Regions from separate parts of the Homo sapiens genome. Here regions 1, 2 and 4 are each linked to region 3. The links are contacts of gene promoters, found by promoter capture Hi-C in blood cells and fetal thymus (Javierre and others, 2016). All regions are on one chromosome and are shown on one strand. Each heading gives the region's core, a stretch centred on a gene start or on the middle of the fragment in contact. The rest is flanking DNA. Distances are from core to core; before and after follow the strand shown. Region 1 holds the start of PRMT1 (protein arginine methyltransferase 1). Region 2 holds the start of RCN3 (reticulocalbin 3). Region 3 overlaps TRPM4 (transient receptor potential cation channel subfamily M member 4). Region 4 holds the start of FLT3LG (fms related receptor tyrosine kinase 3 ligand).

Region 1 (3,438 bases), core at 767-3,266, 470 kb before region 3:
AACCAACCCCCTCCCTTATGACCCTCTGCCCACGAAGGTAGGGTCCCAGGGAAGATGGGCAGCTCCTGGACCCTCTAAGAATGAGAGGACTCCAGAAAGTGGCTTGGGGGCACGGTGGCTCACACCTGCAATCCCGGCACTTTGGGAGGCCGAGGCAGGTGGGTCACCTGAGGTCAGGAGTTTGAGACCAGCCTGACCAACATGGTGAAACCCTATCTCTACTAAAAATACAAAAATTAGCTGGGCCTGGTGGCGGGTGCCTGTAATCCCAGCTACTCAGGAGGCTGAAGCAGGAGAATCGCTTGAACCCGGGAGGCGGAGGTTGCAATGAGCCGAGATCAAGCCATTGCACTCCAGCCTGGGTGACAGAGTAAGACTCCGTCTCAAAAAAAAAAAAAAAAAAAGTGGCTTGGGGAGTCAGGCCATCGCCCCCATTCAGACACCCATCCCAGGCCCTGAAGACTTCCAGGTGCGGCCAAGCCTGAGGCCACCTCTGGGAAAGTTATTTCCTCCATCCATAGAGCCCCAGGTGCAGGAGACAGCCAAGAGGGTGGGAAGTCATTACAGTGACCCCTGGGAGCTGCATCCTGACAGCTGAGAGCTGACCTGCCCCTCCAGCCAATGCCATAGGTAAGGGGTGGAAGGACAGAGGCCCCATCAGATTACATCTCTTCCAGATGTGACCACTATCCAAGTCTCCAAGAAGGGCCACGTCACAGGCCATGACCTACTAGGCTCCAAGCACCCTCCCTCCAGCTCTCCCAAGCTAGCGGGGATGCCTATAAGAAGAAAGGTGCTGAGGGGGTTTCCCACTCGGGCCTATTTCTCAATACCACTGAAAACTACCGCCAGACAACCCCAGCCCCAGAGGGCTTGAAACGCAAGACTGAAACCTCCCCCACATGGCTGCACGAGAACCAAACCTCACTCGAAACCATTTCAGGCACCCACTCTCAGGACCCCAGGGCTCAGGACCCTGCACAGGGCTTCAGGAAGAAGGAGGTCATCTCGCACCCTCACAAAGACCCGGGGGAGATAAACGGCTCCAGTAGGGTAAAGCTCTCAGCCTACATATTTCCCACAACTCCTTCCCAGCGGACATACCCTCCTCCCTCCGCCCGCCAGGAAGAAATCCGAGGGGAGGTGGGCTTCAGGACACGCCCCATGAAAAAGATGTCCCTCCCACACACCCAGAAATGGCCACAAGGGGGTGCACGGCGCCTATTAATGGGAAAATCTCTATCTAGATGCCCCACCACCACCCAGAGGGAGGTCACAGGGGCATGCCCCATCCCCCAACTCCTAAAGCCCTGGGCGAGGGGGAGAATTCTGGGAGGGGAAACGGGGTCGGCGGGGGACCCCATTCTTGGTTTTCCTCCAGTCCCTAACCCAGAACGCACAAAACCGGGTCCGATATCCCAACAGATGCCCCCGGAGCTCGGAAGGAGGTTGGTAAAGGGCTGAGAAGCACTGCTCCTCCCAAGAGACTCCCCACATCGTGGAGGGCCCCAGGTCGATCACACCCCACGGCGTGTGCCCAGGTCCCCGGGGAGGAGGGCTGGGGGCGTCAGGAGGGTCGGACCCCCTCCCCGCCCCCCTGGGCGCCCCTCCCCGGCCGGGGGCGGGGCCTTTGTCCCGCACGTGGAGCCCGCCGGGCCACTGGACTCGGCACACCCCCTCCCCACCCACCGCGCAGCGGCCACGTGGGGGCCTGGCCGGAAGCGCCCCCAGCCCTCCTCCACGTGGGAGGGGGGATAAGACCCTCCGCTAGGCCGGATGCCGAAGGCCCTTGGAAGCTAGGGAGCCGTCACCTCAAACGATATCCCCGGATGTGGAACGTGCGGCGCCCCCGTGTGCGGCGGGGGACCTCCAACCCCATATCGCCAACTTAGAGCCCTTTCCCCACCACAGAGGCGTGAAACACCGACCCAAAGCCGCCTCCCGCCCACGGCGGCGCTCCAAGCGCTCACCTCCATGATGCAGTTCGCGGCCTCGGCTGCCGCCATCTTCACCCGCACCTACTCCTCCTCCGGCCGCCAAGACCCCCCCTTTCTCCTCACTCCCCCGGGACCGCCTTATACCAGAGGGTCCACGGCCCGCCTACCGCGACCCCGCTGGAAGATTTCATTGGCAATGGAGGCGGCCCGTCTGAGAATACCGTCTAGTAATTGGCTAGAGAATACGTCCATCATAGGTCAGGGGTTTGCCAACTCTGGCGTCCAGAATCCCGCCCCCTCAAGTCGACCCGGGATGGGGAAAACTGCCCGTCTATTGCAAGAAGCGCGACTGGTGATTGGGCAAAATCCACCAGGAATGCCCTCCCCTTTACACCCAGCACCGCCTCAAAGCTTCCCGGGGAGCCCCGCGCTAAAGGGGCGTCTTGAAACACCTGTCCATCACCAAAACGACCCGCCTCCTAATCGCTGCCATTGGTTTATCCGGAAGCGACGTCACGCAGCCTTTGGCCCACCCTCGCCAAGCGGCCGGCCTCAAGGAGAACACGGCAATTGGCCCACGGGTAGGGAAGAAGGCGGGGCTTCAGGCACCAACGATTGGCTCAAAGGAATTATCACTCCTCGTCCACTCGGTGGATCCTCCCAACCCGGGGGGAGTCTGGAGGAAAAAGGGAGCTTGTGCTCATTACCTGGGGGAAAAACGGAATCGGTGAGAGGCCCAGAGAGAGGAAGGGCATAGCTGGGGTCCCGAAGCAAGTGAGGAATAGGAGTCCGTCGTCAACACATTAAATCCCTAGCCCTTGACATAATCATTCCAAGTTTTTTAAAACCATCAACCCCTCTCAAGCCACTTGGTTTTTGCCAAGTCCCTCCCCCTGCCAGGAACGCCCACCTCTCTTTGTCTGGTCAGCTTCTAAACGTGAATCAGAGCACAGCTTAGGCACCACTTCCTCCGGGAAGCTTTCCTTGATTTGCAGAAAAAGTTCCTAGTTGAATGAAGCTGAATGCAAAGGGCCGAATGCGTGGGTCCTGCCCCTCCTCTCCCCGATCCCTCTACTTCCCTCTGCTCACACTTCTCTCCAATCCCGGAATGAGCTCGCTCTTTGGTTTCTGGGCCTCCGCGCAGGCTATACTCTCTGGCGTGCCGCTGGCAAACGCCTGAGACTTAAAATTTACAATAGGGTTCGGGCGCGATGGCTCACGGGTGTAATTCCAGCACTTTAGGAGGCGGAGGCAGGCGGATCACTTGACATCAGGAGTTCGAGACCAGTCTGGGCAACATGGTGAAACCCCCATTTCTATTAAAAATACAAAAATTACGCCAGGCGGCCGGGCGCGGTGGCTCACGCCTGTAATCCCAGCATTTTGGGAGACCGAGGCGGGCGGATCACAAGGTCAGGAGGTCGAGACCATCCTGGCTAACATGGTGAAACCCCCGTCTCTACTAAAAATACAAAAAATTAGCCGGGCGTGGAGGCTTAGG
Region 2 (2,974 bases), core at 146-2,645, 320 kb before region 3:
TGAAACTCAGGGCTCTGCCACTCTCCTGCACTGGCCGGGCTCCTTAAAGGCCAAACCTCATTTTCCACACCAGTCCCTGCCATTTACAGAGCAGGAAACTGAGGCTTGGGGAGGGGAGATGTCTGGGACAAAAGAATAAGGAGCGCTTAGGGGGCAGAATCTAACCCAGATTTTGCTGCCCTCAAAGGTCCTCTTTTTTATTGTTGTTGTTGTTTTTTAGACGGAGTCTCACTTTGTCGCCCTGACTGGAGGGCAGTGGTGCAATTTTGGCTCACTGCAACCTCCACCTCCCAGGTTCAAGCGATTCTCCTGCCTCAGCCTCCCGAGTAGCTGGGATTACAGGTGCCCACCACCACGCCTGCCTAATTTTGTATTTTTAGTAGAGACGGGATTTCACCATGTTGGCCAGGCTGTTCTCGAACTCCTGACCTCAAGTGATCGGCCTGCCTTGGCCTCCCAAAGTGCTGGGATTACAGGCATGAGCCACCACGCCCGGTCTCAAAGGTCCTCTTTAGGCCTCAATTTTAACTTAATTTCTTTTTCCCAAGGATAGAAGGTAGAATTTCATTTCTCACAAAGAAATGAAGTTCAGTCCACGCCATTTCTCTGACCCCTGTCGATACCCCCGCGTCTCTCTCCTAAGCCCCACCTCTGGACACGCCCCAACCGAATGTCTCTCTTACCCCAGACGGGCCTGGCTTTCCTCTGGGGTGAGTTGGTCGAATTCCTTGGCCACTTCCCGTCCCAGGAAAGCCTCATGGTCGTACTGGAAGTTCCCGTGGGCGTCATCATGGGGAGCGTCGCTCAGGGGGGCCGCCTGGTGCACCCTCCCCTGGCCATGAGGGCCTGCGTCTGGGGATGGCTTCCCCTGGGCCCCGTGCCTCAGTAGCAACAGAAGCAGCAGAACTGATGGTCGCCACATCATCGGTCCCTGGGGAGTGGCAAAGGCCAGGGGTCAGGGGTCACAGGGATGGGGACAGACACGGGATAGGAGAATGGCGGGGTGGAGGGGTTACCTAGGACAGGACAGGGAGTTGGAAGTTGGCTGCAAGCTTTCGGGCTCAAAAAGGGCGGGCGATGGGGGAAAAGAGGGCGGGATGCTTAGAGGTAAAGCCACCTATGGGGAGGACCGAATCTTCTGACGGAGTCTCAGGGGGGTCCCAGACCTGCCAGGGGGAATTACAGAGACAGACGTGGCGCACATCCCACGCAAGGTGCAGGGCATAGTTGTGGCCAGCGAGAGGTCAGGCAGGCTCCCCGTCATTGCTCCCAGTCCGGACCCTGGTCCTCGACCCGAGCCGCCCTCCCTGGACAGAGGCCCCCCACCCACTCCCTTTACCCTGTTATCCAGCTTCGCTCCGCTCTCCACGCTCCGCTCTGCGTTCCCGCAAATGTGCCCAATTCGGCCGCTCTCCAGTCAGGCCCCGCCTCTGGCAGCGCAGAGCCCCGCCCCCCGCCCAATGAGCTCGCACGAGCGTCTCACGGGGCGGGGCCAATGAGTGCACGGGGTGCCGCGGGCACTCCTCGCCACGTCCACAAAGGAAACCGCGGCCTGCCCGGGGAAGAAGGGTGGGCGACACCGCAGTGACGCGGCCGGGGAGAACTACAACTCCTGGCAGTCGTCGCGGCACTCTGCCGTCCACCTCCAGCTGTTCTAGTCACAACGCCTCACGGGAAATGTATTTTTCCCTTTCCCTTTGTCAGGATGGTTTAAGAAAGAGGTGTACGTTCCAACACTTCTATACCAAACAAAACAAAACAAAACAAAAATAAACAAAAAGAACGAAAGAAAAGAAAAAAGGCCGGGCGCGGTGGCTCACGCCTGTAATCCCAGAACTTTGGGAGGCCGAGGCGGGCGGATCGCCTGAGGTCGGGAGTTCGAGACCAGCCTGATCAACACGGAGAAACCCCATCTCTACTAAACATACAAAATTAGCCGGGTGTGGTGGCGCATGTCTTTAATCCCAGCTACTTTGGGAGGCTGAGGCAGGAGAATTGCTTGAACCTGGGAGGCGGAGGTTGTGGTGAGCCGAGATCGCACCATTGCATTCCAGCCTGGGCAACAAGAGCGAAACTCCGTCTCAAAAAAAAAAAGAAAGAAAAGAAAAGAAAAGAAAAGGGAGAGCAGAATCAAGGGGCCGGAGGAAATATCCCATTTCCTCCAAGAGTGAACACTGCTCCTCGCTCCTCTTCGGCTCCAAGGATTCAGGTGGTCAGACAGTAGCCAAGAATTCCTCAAAATGCCTGGCATGGCAGTCATCCAGTAAATATTTGTAAAAGTTATGAATTAAAAATACATGACCTCAGGTTGAGCACAGTAGCTCAATGCCTGTAATCCCAGAACTTTGGGAAGCTGAGGCAGGTGGATCACCTGAGGTCAGGAGTTCCAGACCAGCCTGACCAACATGGTGAAACCCCGTCTCTACTAAATACAAAAAATTAGCCGGGTGTGGTGGTGCATGCCTGTAATCCCAGCTACTTGGGAGGCAGGAGAATTGCTTGAACCTGGGAGGCGGAGGTTGCAGTGAGCTGAGATCACGCAATTGTACTCCAGTCTGAGCAACAAGAGCAAAACTCTGTCTTAAAAAAAAAAAAAAAAAGTGACCTTAGGCCGGGCGCGGTGGCTCACACTTGTAATCCCACCCCTTTGGGAGGCAGAGGCGGGTGGATCATGAGGTCAGGAGATCGAGACCATCCTGGCTAACATGGTGAAACCCCGTCTGTACTAAAAATACAAAAAATTAGCCAGGCATGGTGGCAGGCGCCTGTAGTCCCAGCTACTCGGGAGCCTGAGGCAGGAGAATGGCGTGAACCCAGGGAGGCGGAGCTTACAGTGAGCCGAGATCGCGCCACAGGACTCCGGACTGAGCAACAGAGCAAGACTCCGTCTAAAAAAAAAGAAAAAAGAAAAAGAAAAAGAAAATACATGACCTGATGTATAAAACTGGCAGGTTCCCCTGTGGCAGCATGTTAC
Region 3 (3,271 bases), core at 513-3,012:
AAGCTCCGCCTCCTGGGTTCATGCCATTCTCTTGCCTCAGCCTCCTGAGTAGCTGGGACTACAGGCACCCACCACCACGCTCAGCTAACTTTTTGTATTTTTAGTAAAGATGGGGTTTCACCATGTGTGGGCGGCAAGCCACCCAGGTGCCAAGGCAAGAGACCGAGGGCACAAGCTGTTCCAGTGTAATAAAACATATAAAATAACAAGAGTTATACTAGATATAGATCATAGATATGATTATATATGAATATCAATCATTAGTTTGTAGCAATTACTCTTTATTTCAATATTATAATAATCCTTGCTTTACAATCATAACCTAGGAAAAACCAAGCCATACAGAGATAGGAGCTGAAGGGGCATGATGAGAAGTGACCAGAAGACAGAGTGTGAGCCTTCTGTTATTCCTGGACAGGGCCACCAGAGGGCTCCTTGGTCTAGCGGTAACGCCAGCATCTGGGAAGATTCCCGTTACCAAGCGGACCGTGGTCTAGAGGTAGCGTCAGTGCCAAGGAAAAGCACCCACTACTTAGCAGACCGGGAAAGGGAGTCTCCCTTTCCCCGGGGGAGTTTAGAGAAGACTGCTCCACCACCTCTTGTGGAGGGCCTGACTGATGTCAGGCCCGCCCGCAGTTATCCAGGGGCCTAACCGTCTCCCTGTGATGCTGTGCTTCAGCGGTCACACTCCTGTTTCACTTTCATGTTCCACTCTGTACAGCTGGCTCTGCCCTCTAGATAGCAGTAGCAAAATTAGTGAAAGTATTAAAGTATTAAAGTCTTTGATCTTTCTTAAAAGAGCATAGAAGAAATAATGATGTAAGCTGTCCTCTCTCTCTCCGCCTTGGCTACCTAACAGGGAAGGGCCCCTGTCCAGTGGACATGTGACTCACGTGACCTTATCAATCATTGGAGATGACTCACACTCTTTACCCTGCCCCTTTTGCTTTGTATCCAATAAATAACAGCGCAGCCAGGCATTAGGGGCCACTGTCGGTCTCCACGTCTTGGTGGTAGTGGTCCCCCAGGCCCAGCTGTCTTTTCTTTGATCTCTTTGTCTTGTGTCTTCATTTCTACAATCTCTTGTCTCTGCACACGGGGAGAAAAACCCACAGACCTTGTAGGGCTGGCCCCTACAACCGTGTTAGCCAGGATGGTCTCGATCTCCTGACCTCATGATCTGCCCACCTCGGCCTCCCAAAGTGCTGGGATTGCAGGCTTGAGCCACCATGCATGGCTTTTTTTTTTTTTTTTTTTTTTTGAGACAAGGTTTCACTCTGTTGGTGGCACAATCATGATGGTGGTGAAATCATGGCTCACTGAAGCCACAGCCTTGACCTCCTGGGCTCAAGCCTTCCTCCCACCTCAGCCTCTTGAGTAGCTGGGACTACAGGCATGCACCACCACGCCTGGCAAATTTTTTATTTTTTTATTGAGATAAGGTCTCACTATGTTGCCCAGGTCGGTCTTGAACTCCTGGCCTCAAGTGATCCTCCCACTTTGGCTCCCTAAAGTATTGTGATTGCAGGCACAAGCCACCATGCATCATAATTTTTAAAAATCGTAAACTAGGAATAGAAATAAACTTTCTCAACATGAGAAAAGGTACTTCTGAAAAACCCACAGCTACCGTCATACCCAATGGTGAAAGAGTGAAAGCTTTCTGCCTAAGATCAGGGACAAGACAAGGATGTCCACTTTTACCACTGCTATTCCACATTGTGCTGGAAGTTCTGGCTAGAACAATTAAACAAGAAAAAAAATAAAAGGCATCCAAATTGGAAAGGAAGAAGTAAAAATATCTCTATTCACAGATGACATGATCCTATATATAGGAAATGCCAGAGAATCACAAGAAAGCTTCTAGGGCTGCAGATTCAGCAAAGTTGCAGGGTACAAGATCACACAAAAATCAGTTGTGTTTCTACACACCCGCAATGAACAATCCAAAAAGGAAATTAAGAAAGCAATTCCACTTACAACAGTATCTAAAGGTTAAGCACCTAGGAATAAAGTTAACCAAAAGGGTGAACAATTTGTAGCCTGAAAACTACCAAATACTGCTGGAAAAGCATTAAAAAGAACACCTAGATGAAATATCAATACTACCCGAAGCAATCTACAGATTCAACGCAATCCCTCGGAAAATTCCAACAACTGGCCGGGCGCGGTGGCTCACACCTGTAATCCCAGAACTTTGGGAGGCCAAGGCGGGTGGATCACCTGAGGTCGGGAGTTCGAGACCAGCCTGACCAACATGGAGAAACCCTGTCTCTACTAAAAATACAAAATTAGCCGGGCGTGGTGGCACATGCCTATAAGCCCAGCTACTCAGGAGGCTGAGGCAGGAGAATCGCTTGAGCCCGGGAGGCAGAGGTTGTGGTGAGCTGAGATCGCGCCATTGCACTCCAGCCTGGGCAACAAGAGTGAAACTCTGTCTCAAAAAAAAGAAAAAAAAAAAAGGAAAAAAAAAGAAAATTCCAACAACCTTTTTGACAGACATGGAAACTCTGATCTTTAAGTTCATATAGAATTGCAGGAGGCCCAGAATAGCCAAAACAATCTTGAAAAATAACAAAGGAGACTCATACTTCCAATGTCAAAATTTGCTACAAACCTACAGTAATCAACACTGTGTGGGCTAGACATGGTGGCTCACGCCTGTAATCCCAGCACCTTGGAAAGCCGAGGCAGATCACCTGAGGTCAGGAGTTCAAGACTAGCCTGGCCAACATGGTGAAACCCTGTCTCTACCAAAAATACAAAAAAATTAGCCGGGCGTGGTGGCAGGTGCCTGTAATCCCAGCTACTCAGGAGGCTGAGTTAGGAGAATCGTTTGAATCCAGGATGCGGATGTTGCAGTGAGCAGAGATCGTGCCACTGCAATCCCGCCTGGGTGACAAGAGCGAGACTCCGTCTCAAAAAAAACCCAAAAAACTGTGTGGTTCTGGCATAAGGATAGACGCAATCCAGTGGAATAGAATTGAAAGTCCAGAAATAAACTCATAAATCTATGAGTGTCATGCATTGAATTGTATCCCGCTAAAGATATGTTGAAGTCCGGCCGGGTCCAGTGGCTCACGGCTGTAATCCCAGCACTTTGGGAGGCCGAGGCAGGTGCATCACCTGAGGTCAGGAGTTTGAGATCGGCCTGGGCAACATGGTGAAACCCCGTCCCTACTAAAAATACAAAAATTAGCTGTGTATAGTGGCAGGCACCTGTAATCCCAGCTACTCGGGAGGCTGAGGCAGGAGAATCCCTTGAACCCAG
Region 4 (3,393 bases), core at 863-3,362, 270 kb before region 3:
GAGGAGGGGCTGAGGACTCTGATTCCTGGGTTTGGGGAGGGGAGGGCCTGGTTATCCACTCGCCTCGGTGGAGCATCTTGAGTCTGTGGTCCCCACCTCCATCCCAGGTCCCTCCCAACATGACTTACGTCCTGCAGGTTGGAGGCCACGGTGACTGGGTAATCTTGAAGCAGGTAGTCAGACTGCGGGAGAAAACAGGATCAGGCCTGGCTGAAAACAGCGAGAAACAGAACTGTGGGGACCCAGAGGTGGCAGCAGAGATCCAGAGAGAGAGGGACAAGACCAAGAGAGGGGGAGCCCAGAAGAAGCCACAGAACCTTGCCCTTAAAAAGGGATGACACCCCTAAGCACAGTGGCTCACGCCTGTAATTCCAGCACTTTGGGAGGCCAAGGTGGGAGGATCGCTTGAGCCCAGGAGTTCAAGACCACCCTGGGAAACACAGGGAGAGAGACCCCATCTCTACTTAAAAAAAAAAGTGGGGGGAAGGGGGATCACATGAGGGGGTCCGGGGCAGCGCCGCTCACCAGCTCACGGATTTTGACAGCGAAGTCGGAGGAGATGGGGCTGTGTTGGAAGGAGCAGTCCTGGGTCCCACTGAGTCCCGAGCTCAGCAGCAGCAGCAGGAGGAGATAGGTCTGCAGGGGAGCGGGTGCTGGGGGAGCCCTCTGCTGTTCCACACACAGCCCCCTCCTCCGGGCTTCCCACCTGTACTGTTCTGTCTTCCCCGCTCCTCCTTCCCTGGGTGTCCTTCTGCCTCTTCCACACTTTCTGGAGACATGGCCCCATCTCTGCCTGTCTTTCCCGGTTTCTCTCTGCCTCTGGTCCAATGCTGTCCAGTTTGCATCCCCCTCTGCCCCACCCCTCTCTCTCCCCATCTCCCCCACTCTGCTGGTCTCTCTCCAACCACCTCATCTTCACGTCTGGTTTCCTCGCCCGGGTTCCTCCAGCTCTGTCCCTCCCTCTGCCTTCTACACCACTGTTGCCTGCTTCTCTCTTGATCTTGGTCCACGTCCTCTTCATTTGTTCTTGGCTCTGTCCACCTTCCCTCTCCTCTGTCCATCTCCCCCCTTTTCTGTCCATCTCCCCCTCCTCTGTCCATCTCCCCCCTCCTCTGTCTCTCTTCCTCTCCTCTGTCCGTCTCCCTCCTCCTGTCCACCTCCCCCTCCTCTTCATCTCCCTCTCCTCTGTCCATCTCCCCCTCCTGTCCATCTCCCCTCTCCTCTGTCCATACCCCCTCCTCTCCATCTTCCCTCCTGTCCATCTCCCCCACCTCTGTCCATCTCCCCCTTCTCTGTCCATCTCCCTCCTCCTGTCCACCTCCCTCCTCTTTATCTCCCTCTCCTCTGTTCATCTGCCCTCTCCTCTGTCCATCTCCCCCTCCTCTGTCCATCTCCCCGCTCCTGTCCATCTCCCACTCCTCTCTATCTCCCTCTCCTCTATCTCCCCCTCCTCTGTCCATCTCCCCATCCTCTGTCCATCTCCCCCTCCTCTGTCCGTCTCCTCTCCTATCCATCTCCCCTCACATCTGTCCATCTCCCCTCCTATTTCCTCGTCATCTGTCCATCTGTTCTCCCGTCCATCTCCCCTCATCTCTGCCCCATCCTGACATTGTGCCTCCCCTCTCCCCTGATCTTGTCCCTGGGGTTTACGCACTGTTGGGCTCCAGGCTGGCGCCAGCACTGTCATTTCGGCCGGGGGCCCCTCATGCCTCCTGTCGCCGGGTCTTGGAAGGGACAGAAGAACAAGTCTCGGACCCTCATGCCCCAGCCCCTGCCCTGCCCGCCCCTTTGCCTCCCCGCCCCTCCCGCGTCCCATTGATGTGGCTGAGTTTCCGCCCCTTCCTCCCCCAGGCTTCCTGCGTCTGCCCCAGTTACGGTGAAAACTCTTCATCTCCACTTCTAAGAACCTCGACGTCTGGTCCCCAGAACCCTCCCCAGGTTAGGGACCCGGGAACCCAGCCCCCCACCCTCTGCTCCCCCTGCCCCAGGAGTGGGGACCCTGGCTCCGCCCCTTGGGGACCTAGAGTCCAAGTCTCCTCACGCACCAGGCTTGCCCCAGTTGGGTGTGGAAGGGGCCAAGCCGGGTGACAGCCAGAGACCGAAAGTGAAAGGAAATTTTTGGGGGGAGACAGTCAAGGGGTGGAATCTGGGCCCAGGCGGAGCGCGCCCCCTGGTGGTGAGAGGCGGCCGCTCACGCCGCAGATGGCGCGTTCTCCGGACGCCCCGCAGCGGGGGCTGCAGTGGGGCTGACTCCCTGGGTGGCACGCCCAGTGCATGGTGAGCTGGGGCTGGAACCCGGATCTGTCTCTGGGAACTCGCAGTTGCTGTGTCTTACCGTCCTCCGGGCCCCAACTTTGCCCCGCCAAGGCTTGGCACACAGGACTCAGGATGCATCTTGTCACATTGGGCCTGGCAGGTGTCGCCCTAGCACTAGCTTTATCACTGTGGGAGCTTGGCCAGCCCCTTGACCTCTCTAAGCCTCGGCTTCTCCAACTCCAAACTGAGGGGTGAGGTGGTACATGAGACAAAATAGAAGCTCTCTTCCACATCTGTGGATCTCTGAATCTCTGAAGCATTTTTTTTTTTTAGATGGGGTCTCACTCTGTTGCCCAGGCTGGAGTGCAGTGGCACAGTCTCGGCTCACGGCAACCTCCGCCTCCTGGGCTTAAGCAATTCTTGTGCCTCAGGCTCCCAAGTAGCTGGAATTGCAGGTGCGTGCCACCATGCCCGGCTAATTTTTGTATTTTTAGTAGAGACGAGGTTTCACTATGTTGGCCAGGCTGATCTCGAACTCCTGACCTCAGGTGATCAGCCTGCCTCGGCCTCCCAAAATGCTGGGATTACAGGTGTGACCCATCACGCCCATCCTGAATCTCTTGCTCACCCATCTGATCCGTGGCAGACTGTCCTGAAACATCTGCTGCCCCCACCCCCCCAGCAGGAGGATTCGAGGTCCCATCCTGGGGAACTCGGACATGGCCACACTCACTTTGGCCAGTCACATGAGGGTGGAGGTGACAGGTGTCACTTCTGAATGGAAGTCTAAGGGACCGGGGAGTGGATGGTGGAGGATGCATGGAGAGAGCGCCTCTATCAGCCAAGTTTCCTGTGCCACTCGGAGGAGCACAGGGATCCTGCCAGCCCCGGATGAGCACAGGGAGTGTAAGCAACAAACTAATGTTGTGGTTGTGGCCCACGCAGATTCGGGGGTTATGTGTTACTGCAGCAAAGCCTCGCCCGTCCTGGCCTTCATCATCCATTTCCCTTCCCTGATCCCTCTGCCTGCCTCACTTCCTGTTCAGCCTGGGTTAGCTGCCTTGTCGCACCCAATGGTCAGACCTTCCATCTGGCTAGAAAGATTTAAATGAAGCAGAGAGGCAGAGATACAAGCCC

What was found. The method cuts DNA at HindIII sites, captures the fragments that hold promoters and counts their contacts. A CHiCAGO score of 5 or more calls a contact.
Region 1: a contact is called between the fragment with the promoter of PRMT1 here and a fragment that was not itself captured in region 3, in 5 of 17 cell types (naive CD4 T cells, naive CD8 T cells, total CD8 T cells and 2 more). The highest score is 6.8, in naive CD4 T cells.
Region 2: a contact is called between the fragment with the promoter of RCN3 here and a fragment that was not itself captured in region 3, in 2 of 17 cell types (naive B cells and total B cells). The highest score is 6.4, in naive B cells.
Region 4: the fragment with the promoter of FLT3LG here is called in contact with a fragment that was not itself captured in region 3 in 2 of 17 cell types (naive B cells and total B cells); the score reaches 7.8 in naive B cells.

Annotation. Positions count from the first base shown.
Region 1 is chr19:49,675,849-49,679,286 of GRCh38, reverse strand. It overlaps PRMT1 (protein arginine methyltransferase 1), which reads right to left and starts at 2,016. Exons shown (of 11, transcript NM_001536.6): 1 at 1,971-2,016. The coding sequence starts at 2,006. RefSeq lists a silencer at 1,522-1,801 and enhancers at 1,646-2,377, 2,382-2,531. The HindIII fragment of the contact is 22,690 bases long and covers 1-2,350 here.
Region 2 is chr19:49,526,424-49,529,397 of GRCh38, reverse strand. It overlaps RCN3 (reticulocalbin 3), which reads right to left and starts at 1,395. Exons shown (of 7, transcript NM_020650.3): 1 at 1,340-1,395; 2 at 684-931. The coding sequence starts at 925. It overlaps FCGRT (Fc gamma receptor and transporter), which reads right to left. Exons shown (of 7, transcript NM_001136019.3): 7 at 2,970-2,974. RefSeq lists a silencer at 1,318-1,437 and an enhancer at 901-1,479. The HindIII fragment of the contact is 8,718 bases long and covers 1,055-2,974 here.
Region 3 is chr19:49,205,627-49,208,897 of GRCh38, reverse strand. All of the region lies in intron 20 of TRPM4 (transient receptor potential cation channel subfamily M member 4), which reads right to left. Among named protein-coding and RNA genes, the nearest start is that of TRPM4, 49 kb to the right of the region's middle. The HindIII fragment of the contact is 201 bases long and covers 1,662-1,862 here.
Region 4 is chr19:49,472,934-49,476,326 of GRCh38, reverse strand. FLT3LG (fms related receptor tyrosine kinase 3 ligand) reads right to left here and starts at 2,112. Exons shown (of 9, transcript NM_001459.4): 1 at 2,046-2,112; 2 at 1,655-1,724; 3 at 526-636; 4 at 129-182. The coding sequence starts at 1,687. RefSeq lists an enhancer at 156-335 and a silencer at 1,654-1,733. The HindIII fragment of the contact is 13,906 bases long and covers 1-3,393 here.